Linked DNA regions of Homo sapiens: region 1 is linked to region 2. The links are contacts of gene promoters, found by promoter capture Hi-C in human tissues and cell types (Jung and others, 2019). All regions are on one chromosome and are shown on one strand. Each heading gives the region's core, a stretch centred on a gene start or on the middle of the fragment in contact. The rest is flanking DNA. Distances are from core to core; before and after follow the strand shown.

Evidence for each region. The method cuts DNA at HindIII sites, captures the fragments that hold promoters and counts their contacts. A contact is called where the count stands out against the background at its distance.
Region 1: a contact is called between a fragment that was not itself captured here and the fragment with the promoter of FDX1 in region 2, in 1 of the 25 tissues and cell types used here (lymphoblastoid cells).

The regions. Positions count from the first base shown.
Region 1 is chr11:111,173,565-111,178,251 of GRCh38, reverse strand. No RefSeq gene overlaps it. Among named protein-coding and RNA genes, the nearest start is that of POU2AF2, 70 kb to the left of the region's middle. RefSeq lists an enhancer at 280-349. The HindIII fragment of the contact is 4,277 bases long and covers 616-4,687 here.
Region 2 is chr11:110,427,839-110,432,913 of GRCh38, reverse strand. It overlaps FDX1 (ferredoxin 1), which reads right to left and starts at 2,966. Exons shown (of 4, transcript NM_004109.5): 1 at 2,609-2,966. The coding sequence starts at 2,793. RefSeq lists an enhancer at 2,153-2,432 and a silencer at 2,503-3,152. The HindIII fragment of the contact is 14,779 bases long and covers 1-5,075 here.

The DNA of each region.
Region 1 (4,687 bases), core at 1,505-4,004, 750 kb before region 2:
ATCCCAGCACTTTTGGAGGCTAAGACGGGCTGATCACGAGGTCAGGAGAGTGAGACCATCCTGGCCAACATGGTGAAACCCTATCTCTACTAAAAATACAAAAATTAGCTGGGTGTAGTGGTGCGTGCCTGTAGTCCCAGCTACTCAGGAGGCTGAGGCAGGAAAATTGCTTGAACCCAGGAGGCGGACGTTGCAGTGAGCTGAGATCTTACCACTGCACCCTAGCCTGGGTGACAGAGTGAGACTCCATCTCAAAAAAAAAAAAAAAAAAAAAAAAAGAGCAGGAGCAGGTTTGTGTGAATAGGGTTATACTAACATTAATACTCAAACACTGAGGCACAGAAAGGTTAAAACAATAGTCTAAAGTGACCGTGTTATGTAGTAGAGTCAGGATTAAAGCCTAGCACTCTGGCCCCAGAGCCTGTTATCTTAAGCATCTTGGACCAGGTGTGCAGGCAAGAATAAAAACAGGAAGAAGGGTTTGGTCCAGAGAAGGAGCCTATGAAGCAGGGAGGACTTGTGACCTGCTGTGGTTTGAATATACCCCCCAGATTTCATGTGTTGGAAACTTAATCCCCAACACAACAATGTTGAGAGATGGGAGCTTTAAGAACTGATTAAGTCATTAGCCCTAATTAGCCCTTATGGATGGATTAATGTTATTATTGAGGAAGTGGGCTTGTTATTGCAAGAGTAGATTTGTTATAAAGGGGAATTCAGCCTTCTCTTGCTGTCTCTTGTTTTTTTGCACTCTCTTCCCCTTTTGCTTTCCACCACAGGATGATGCAGCAGGAAGGCCCTCACCAGATTCAGGCCACTCACTCAACCTTGCACTTCCTAGCCTACAGACCTGTCAGAAATAAATTTCTTTTCTTTATAAATTACCACATATGTAATATTTTGTTACAGCAGCACACAATGGACTAAGACACCACCTCTCACTTATAACTTTCATATATACATACATATGTACATGCCCTTGTGTGTGCATGCACACACATACACCCACAGACACAATCTGAGCTTTTAATGATATTAAACACCTTCTCTCAAGTATTCTGGGCATCCCTTAAGGGTTCTTACTTGTGCCTGTGGGTCCAGGTTACTCTTATTTTGTCCTCTGTCATGCCAATTAGTGCCCCTTCTCTGGTTCCAGCTTTCTGCATGGGCCTCTGTCCCCAGTTATGCCCAGATCCCTCCTGATTCATCCAGGCCACCACTGCCATCAGCCCCTCCATGGAATGGGGAAGGAAAATGCTTTTTCTTCTGTGTTGCACTTAATTGGGGCAGGATGAACTGCAGTGGATCACATGGTCATAAGGCATTGCAGGGTTTGGTGGAACAGCTCTTTCCATTGTTACATAGGCTCCTTTCTCTCCAGGATCACACATGCCGCCCAGACAGCTAGATTTAACAAAGGCTTTAAGCATAGGTCACCACCTGAAACTCTCTCTTTGTGACCTGCCAGGACTTGTTGCTGATTTCCTCTGCTTGGTGAATTTTCTTTTCGGTTCCTTTCTTCACTGTGGTTTCCATTGCATCTTTGACTCCTACTCGATCATGAATATCTGAGATGTCCGAACCATAGTACTGGCTATTGTTCAAGCTTTTATTCCAATGAAGCTCCTAGTTTCCATGTAAACTAGTGATCGCAAATTGATACTTGATGTGTGTGTGTGCCAGCATGTGTGTGTGCATGTGTGTGTATGCATATGTGTGTGTGTGTGAGAATGCTATTACTAGTGCCACAAGATGGACCTGTACATGTCAATTCAGGCTTCAGAAATATATAACTTGCCAGATAGTGTCTTGGAGATGATTAGGACCTCTAGTTTCTTTATAGTTGGTGAGCAAATCTTTCATACACACCACAGTCCTTTACTGTCCCAAGATTCTTTAGGTCCAGCATTCTTAACCTGGATTTGTGGACCCCAAGTGGGTCCATAAGTGAATACTAGGGAGTCTGTGAGAAATTGCCTGCAAAATGTTATATGCACATGAACTTGTTAGGGGAGATGATCTATAACCTTAATTAGAGGCACAAAGCATCTGGATCCCCAAAAGTTTGAGAGCCAGACATTCAGACTGGCCTTGGCATGTGGGAAGCACTGGATGTGACCTAATCCAGAAAGGTGAAGGGAATAAGGAAACCAACACGCACTGAATGGCTGCTATGAGCCAATGTCCTGACCTGGGTTCTTTATGTGTTTTCTCATTTCATTTTCAAAACTGTTCCGTGTAGCAGTTATGACTCCCATATTCCAGAGGAGAAATGGAAGCTGAGAGGGGTTGAAGGAAGGTCCACAAGGCCACACAGCTGCTAAGTCAGGCAAACATGATTTACACATCTAGGCTTTTGGCCTCTAAATAACTGTGCACTTTCTGTGACATCATGCTGACCCCCGAGAAAAACAAGAAATACCAATTTCCATAGATTTCATAAGCACATTGGTAAATACTGCATTCTATTTTTTCTACAGCCCATACTATATACTAATAGCATGTATTAAATTATATTGCTCACAAAACAAAGTTTTGATCAGATATCCATGGTGTTGCTTTTTTAAAAACACACTTTCGCTATTGCTCATCATGCTTTCTGTCATAATGATATGGTTGTTATTAATAAATACAAGACACTATGTACCTGTAACTCCTTACTCTATCTTAAAGACATAAATAGGGCAGTGTAATGGTTATCAGGGATTTCCTCTCTTTGGCTAATAGGTGGGGTGGTGCAGGAGGCTGAGAAAGTCTTACTCTGTTGGGGTAGGAGGCGGAGACAGGACTCGATTCCAGAGACGGGGCTCAGACACCAGACCAAATTGAGGACTAGTTAAAATGGACTGGGAGGAAGCAGCTTTCCATAATACATGCCCACCAGTGTGCCATGTCAGTTTACCATTGCCATGGCAACACTCAGGAATTACCACCTCTTTCCAAGGCAATGACCCAACAACCCAAAAGAAATTTCCCTAGAAATTTCTGCATAAACCACCCCTTAATCTACATGTAATTAAAAGTCGGTATAAATATGACTGCAAAACTGCCCTGAGCTGCTACCCTGAGCACACGGCCTGAGGTGTATCCCTGCTCTGCAGGAGCAGTCATGGAGCTGTAACACCACCGGAGCTGTAACACTGCCACTTCAATAGAGCTGCTTTCTTCCATCTCTTGCTCGCCCCTGAATTCTTTCCTGGGCAAAGCCAAGAGCCCTTGTGGGTTAAGCTCCAGTTTAGTTGTGTAATTACTTTAAATTTTTTAAGATACCAATATTATATGACTTCCGATCTTTTTAAAATTTTCTTCAAACCGAATCTTGCTCTGTCATGTAGTCTGGAGTGCAGTGATGTGATTTCGACTCACTGCAACCTCCGTCTCCCAGGTTCAAGCAATTCTCATGTTTCAGCCTCCCGAGTAGCTGGGGTTACAGGCATGTGCCACCATGCCCAGCTAATTTTTGTCTTTTTAGTAGAGACGGGATTTCACCATGTTGGCCAGGCTGGTCTCAAACTCCTGACATTAGGTGATCACCCACCTTGACCCCCCAAAGTACTGGGATTACAGGGCGTAAGCCACCACGCCTCGCTTGATCTTTTGTTGGAAATGAATAGTGTATAAATTATCTCAGGGAAATTTAAATAATAAGCATACATTCTAATGCAGTCCTCAGTGTAGCTTTGTGCCCACTGTCTGTTTTCTAGAGCCCTCTTCAATACAGTGTAACCTACTCAACAATGTGTTAATAACATCTACTAAAAACACACTGGATTCCTGGGATGTCTTAACCATCTAATATCTACTGTTGAAAATTGTAAGTCTTCCTTTTGGTTCTGTTAGTGCTCCATAGAATTCGTTATGACACGGATCATAAAATAAATCTTCACAGTTCATTAGTAGAGTCTAAAGCAATTCTGAACACATTTTACTTGCTTCACACCTGTTTGCTTAAATGTAAATATAGAAAATACCTTGTATTCCTGCTCTAGAATTTGTAGTGGGAATTCATATTAAACAGTTCATAGAGTTGTGGAATCTGGATTTTTAAAAAAGAATTAAAAACTAATGAATTTGTATTTAGAGTTTAGAAAGTACAGAACTTATTTCAAACTAATATAGTTAGTTGTCTCTGTTTTTAAATGAAATTCCTCTCTGAGGCTGCTTTATTAATGAAACCGATTGCACTCCCTCACTACCAGGCTGGGGGTGGTGGGCTCCACGTGAGTGAGCATACTTGCTTCTTTAGGGAAGCACAGAATTGCTTGAGAAAACAAGTCAGCAGTGGTGAAGACTGGAGCTTGGAAACATGGGGTCTAGGTATTTCTCTTGTCCTCAGCTTGGTTATGTAGAGTAGCTGTTCTCAGTTTCTGTAGCTCAGAAACAGTGTTTCCCAGACTTCCCTGATGGAAAGAACAACCTGAGGGGCTGGCAGACAGACAGTTCCCCAGACCACTGTGCTGGAGATTCACATCCCAAGGGTATGGGTTGAGGCCTGCGGATTTGTATTACTGATGAGGACTCAAGTAATTATTTTCGTCAAGAGGTTTGGGAAGGTATTTCATTGAAACCCTTCCTCTTTCTTCCTTTTTAACCCCCATCCAATTCTTCCAAAATCACAAAATGACCACAAGAATATTACAATCAGTGATACTCTTACTTTCCGAGTGGTTTCCTGAGTTCCTGCCCC
Region 2 (5,075 bases), core at 1,717-4,216:
AAAGGTAAACAGCCCTACAAAAAACTGCCAAGTAAGAGTATTAACAGGTTTACCAAAGAAGAGGAGAGGAGGCGGAAACGAAAGAAAAATGTAATTCTTAAGTTGAAAGAGTATGGAACCTAAGAGTCAGAAGATGTAGACCCTATGCTGGGAGTGGTCACTCACGCCTGTAATCCCAATACTTTGGGAGGCTGAAGCAGGCAGATTACTTGAGGCCAGGGGTTCCAGACCAGGCTGGTCAACATAGTGAAATCTCATCTCTACTAAAACTACAAAACTTAGCCGAGTGTGGTGGCACGCGCCTGTAATCCCAGATATTCGGGTGGCTGAGGCACGAGAATCGCTTGAACCTGGGAGGTGTAGGCTGCAGTGAGCCATGATGGCACCACTGCACTCAGGTGAAGAGTACACCAACACCTCCAAAATCACCACTAAAGAACTAACCCATTAACCAAACACCACCTGTGCCCCCAAAACTACTGAAATTTTAAAAATAAATAGAAATTTAAAATTTTTTTAAAATCCGCAAAAACTTCTTGAGTTCTAGTCCTAGTTTTGCCAGCTACTTAATATGAAATTTTTATTCCCATTTATCTACCCTCCCTACCTCATAGAATTGTCTTAAGAGTCATACGAAACAATACACGTGAAAGATCTTTGCTACCTGAATCACTGCAAACCCCCTTGTGTCACGGTATTTTAGAGTAAAAGGAGTTTTTCTGACTCTCAATTACTGATAGCTTATCGAGTTGTTAAACTTCAAAGACAGAACTACAGTTTCTAGAACTGCTCTGTCTGTCTATAAGAACTTTGTGCCATAACAAAGATGTTCTACACATACTTGCAATGTCCAATACAGTAGCCACTAGCCACATGTGGCTACTGAGAACTCGAAATGTGGCTAGTGTAACTACGAGATTGAATCTTTAATTTTATTTACCTTTAATTATGTTAAACTTCAATAGCCACATGTGATTAGTAGTTACGGTAGTTACAGCACAAGTCTCATTAACACAGTAAGAACTGGAAAATCCAGTTGTAGCTCCAAAGTCTGTAAGAGGAATGATAAGACCATGAATAGAAATTGTGCCAATAAAGAGGGCAGCAGGATTATGAGGAAATAGACGTGCTCCCCTTTAAAACAACCTGACATATCCAAATCCAAAAAACAAATCTGAGAAAGATAACTCCCAATTACTACAAAAACATTCATGTTCCCTTATACCAGTTACACAAGCATGTTCAATATCTGTCCCAATTGATTCAGTTGTCCAAAACTCATCCATTGTATAACAGAAAGCAAGGTACCCACACTGGTCAAAGACAGGGGGGGAAGTGCAGAGGAAACAGGAACAAATAAATCTGGCTTGCCTTCTCCCTGATTTCCCCCAAAGTTCACACAACAAAAATGTATGGAGCACCCACTAGATAACGGGATTAGTGGGGAAAAGATGACTGAAAGTCTTAGACCCTGCTCTCAGAGACCTCAAAAAGAAACTAGACAAAGCAGCGTACAAATCCAACACACTCTCCCTCTAGTTCTCGATTCCTGCTACCCTACATCATGCGGTCAAAGAGCTGTCGAGAGATCTGCATTATATAAATCGCCACCATGTTGGTAAAAATTATGTGTAAATTGTATCTCTAGTATATCTAAGGAGTGTCTTTGAAAAACAAATATGCCCAAGAACCTAAAACTTCAACACATTTGGGATAAATTGTCACATTTCTTTCAATATTTAATACAAAACTCTCTTAACATTGTGAACCTAAGAAGCTGCTGCTGCTGCTGCTGCTGCTGCTGCTGCTGCTACCAAGTGGCATCTACTGAGCCCTCATTACGTGCTAGGCACAAGACTACCTGTATCGCTGTATTAACTCATTGATTCTTCAATTAACCATAGGAGGTCTACACTGTTATTATATCCAACTTGCAAATGGAGAAACTGGGTTCCTAAGGACTGACCAAGTTAGGCACGTCAGACAATCAGTGCCAAAGCCAAGTTTCAAGTCCCGGCAGATTACTTCAACGCAGGGGCTTTCAACACTTGAGCAACTAGCAAAGGGCCTACAGGGCAGCAGAGGGTATGGGCTGGGTGTATTCTACCTGGACACCCCCTGACAAAGACCTGGGACCTGGGTGTCCTCTCAAAGCAGGGCAAGGCCCTGAAAAAAACAGCTGGCAGGTGTGTCAGGCCAGGACAGCAGGAGGGAAGCCTGTCGCGAAGGTCACTGCCAGTTTCGGGCAGAGCAAAGGTCAGATCCCAGACAAATCACACGGAGAACAAGCAGCAGCAAAGTCCCGGCTTTCCTCAGGGCACGGGAAGCGCTGGGAAAGGGAGCTGGGCGTCCAGGGTCCCCGATTCCCGCCGGGAGTGGGTGATGCGGAAAGGAACTCTGCGGTGCGACGGAAGGGAGGCAGCGACGCCACCGAGCAGCGAGACGGAGCCGCGAGAGCACCCCAGAAGAGGGGGGCGAGAGGCAGGCCTCCGGGGTGTGGGCCCGGCGCGCAGAAGGCACTGGAACCAGAGACTCGGCCCAGAGAGCCAGGCGCCACCCACCGGGGACCCCGGCCCGCGCCGGCGATCGCGCCCGCACGGCGCCCTACCTGCTCCGGGCCCGCGCCGACACGCTCAGCGACCGGCTCGCCTCCGCGCTCCCGCCCGGCCCCCGGTTCCTCAGCAGGCCGCTGGATCCAGCGCGGGACCCAGCGTGGTGCAGCCACCGGCCGGCCGGGCCGCCGAGGACAGCAGAAGCGGCGCGCAGCAGCCGGGCGCCCCCAGCGGCAGCCATCGCCCGCGGTCGGGAACTGCCGGAAGCGACGCAGGCCGCGCTTTGAGGCCGCGAGAGACTCCAAAGAGGCGGGGGCGGCAGCTGCGGCGCAGACGCCCGAGGGCCGCGGCGAGGGGCGCGGGGCTGGAGTGGCGGAGAGACCCTGCTGGAAGCACCGCGCCGAGGTTCCGCGTGCCTTCCGGGTGACCTATAAAGACATTGGCAAGCAGAGCGCGGCCCCGCCCCGCCTCTCACGCCCACGCCGCCCGGTCCCATGGGGCGGGGCCAGCGCAGGGGGCCTTTACCAACCCTCCAGGTTCCGTTGTAAGCTGGATGCTTTTTTAGCGGCTGAAGTTGCCGTGCAGAAACAAAATATTTTGAAAGATAGCTGGACGTCTAGCGGAAATCGGTTAGCTAGACCACTGTGTTCTGTTCCGCATACCCCCATCCCCTAGCCGTTAAAAAAAAAACTGGGAAATTGTGTCATCTTGGAGTCAAGTTAGAGCAAAGTGAATTCTGCCCACTGTAAAACAAAAACAGTGGGAAATTTTGGAAAATCTCAGAATGCTATTATACAAAGAAATAATTATGACTATAAAATTGTAAATGAAATTAATGAATAGGCTTGGGGCTCCTGCAGAGGACAGGTAGCCATCCTAGACCTTGACTGGCAAGTAAATGCTGGCTGAGTACATGAAACCCACGAGACTGAACCGGAAACTTTGTGATGAGCTGAGATCTCTAAAAGACTTTCACAAAAAACAGAAAAGATGAACTTTAAAATACACCTTATCATGGTTCATATGTTGTGGGAAATGCATGGGCTTTAAGGTCAGAAATAGCAATGTTCAGATCCAAGATCTACTGCTTTAGAGATCTGAGACCTTGGAAAAATTATTCTCATGGAGGATCAGAGTTTCCATAACTCTCAAACACAGATAAGATGTTCCAGCCTTCAGGGCCATTCTGATGTTAATCTAATACGCAATGCACACCGTGCGTCACAAACCAGGAAGGCTACCGCTTCCTGGGCCTTCCTCCATCAGGGTACTCATAAAGAGGCTAAAGGCCAAAGTCAAGGGGATATTGCAGATATGCTAAACACAATCAGATACTTTTTTTTTCTTTTTTTGACATGGGGTCTCTCTATTCTGCCCAGGCTGTAGTGCAGTGGCGAAATCTCGGCTCACTGCAACCTCCGCCTCCCAGGTTCAAGTGATTCTCCTGCCTCAGCCTCCCGAGTAGCTAGGACTACAGGCGTGTGCCACCACACGCCACTAATTTTTGAAGATTCAGAACAAGAAAGTGTAAGCATGAGTAAAGTATCTGCGGACAATGTATGGTGCTTTCTGGAACCCAATGGCAGAGAGAAGGCAGTGGCTCCTAATTGCCTCAAATCGTTGGATGAAGAGAAAGTCTTTCAAGCTGCGAAGGGCACAGCAAACCCTGACAAGTAATCTTGAAGAGGAGGTTGTAAAAGAACAGCTAACTTTTGTTTTTAGTAAGACCAAACTTCCAAGGTCGGATGAATTAGTTGTAGGAAGAGAATTGAAAAGAAAAAAAATCGTAGATGTTCTGTCTTCTCTCAGCCCTCCTGTAGCAAATACAGTTTCAACTCCCTTAAGGCACTTGATAGCTTTCTGCTTTGTAGGGTAGTTATTCGTACACATAGAGTAGTTATTTATATAGTTCATCTTAGTGACTCCGACAGCACCAGCTACAGGGTCTTGAACATATCAAGGGTCTAATAAATATTGGTGAATAAATTGATGTTATGAAATTTCCATTAATAATCATCAGAATTCATTAAGCATGTATATGAAGATTAAAGATAGAAAAAATGTTCTCCAGGTTTTCTAAGGTGGATGAGAAGTAATGCCAAAAATTGCAAATATCAGTAGTCAGCAGAATTCCAGAATGGATTTGTAAACATGATCATGAATACAGATAAAGCAACATGGAATTACTGAGGACGTGCTTTTGCTTATCTGTTTGCTTATGTATTTCTTTGTCTATAAAACTCCCACCCCTCCATCCCTTTTTTTTTCTTTTTTTCCTTAGAGATGGGGTTTTGCCATGTTGCCCAGGCTAGTCTGGAACTCCTGAGCTCAAGCAATCTGCCCACCTCAGCCTTCCAAAGTGCCGGGACTACAGGCATGAGCCACCATGCCCAGCCCATCTTTTACTCCTTTCAAAATCCATTCATTGTTTGAAGACTTTTGTCTTATTCTGTTTATGATGCTATAACAGAATAACACACAGACTGGGTAATGTGTAAAGAACAGGAATTTATTTTCTCACAG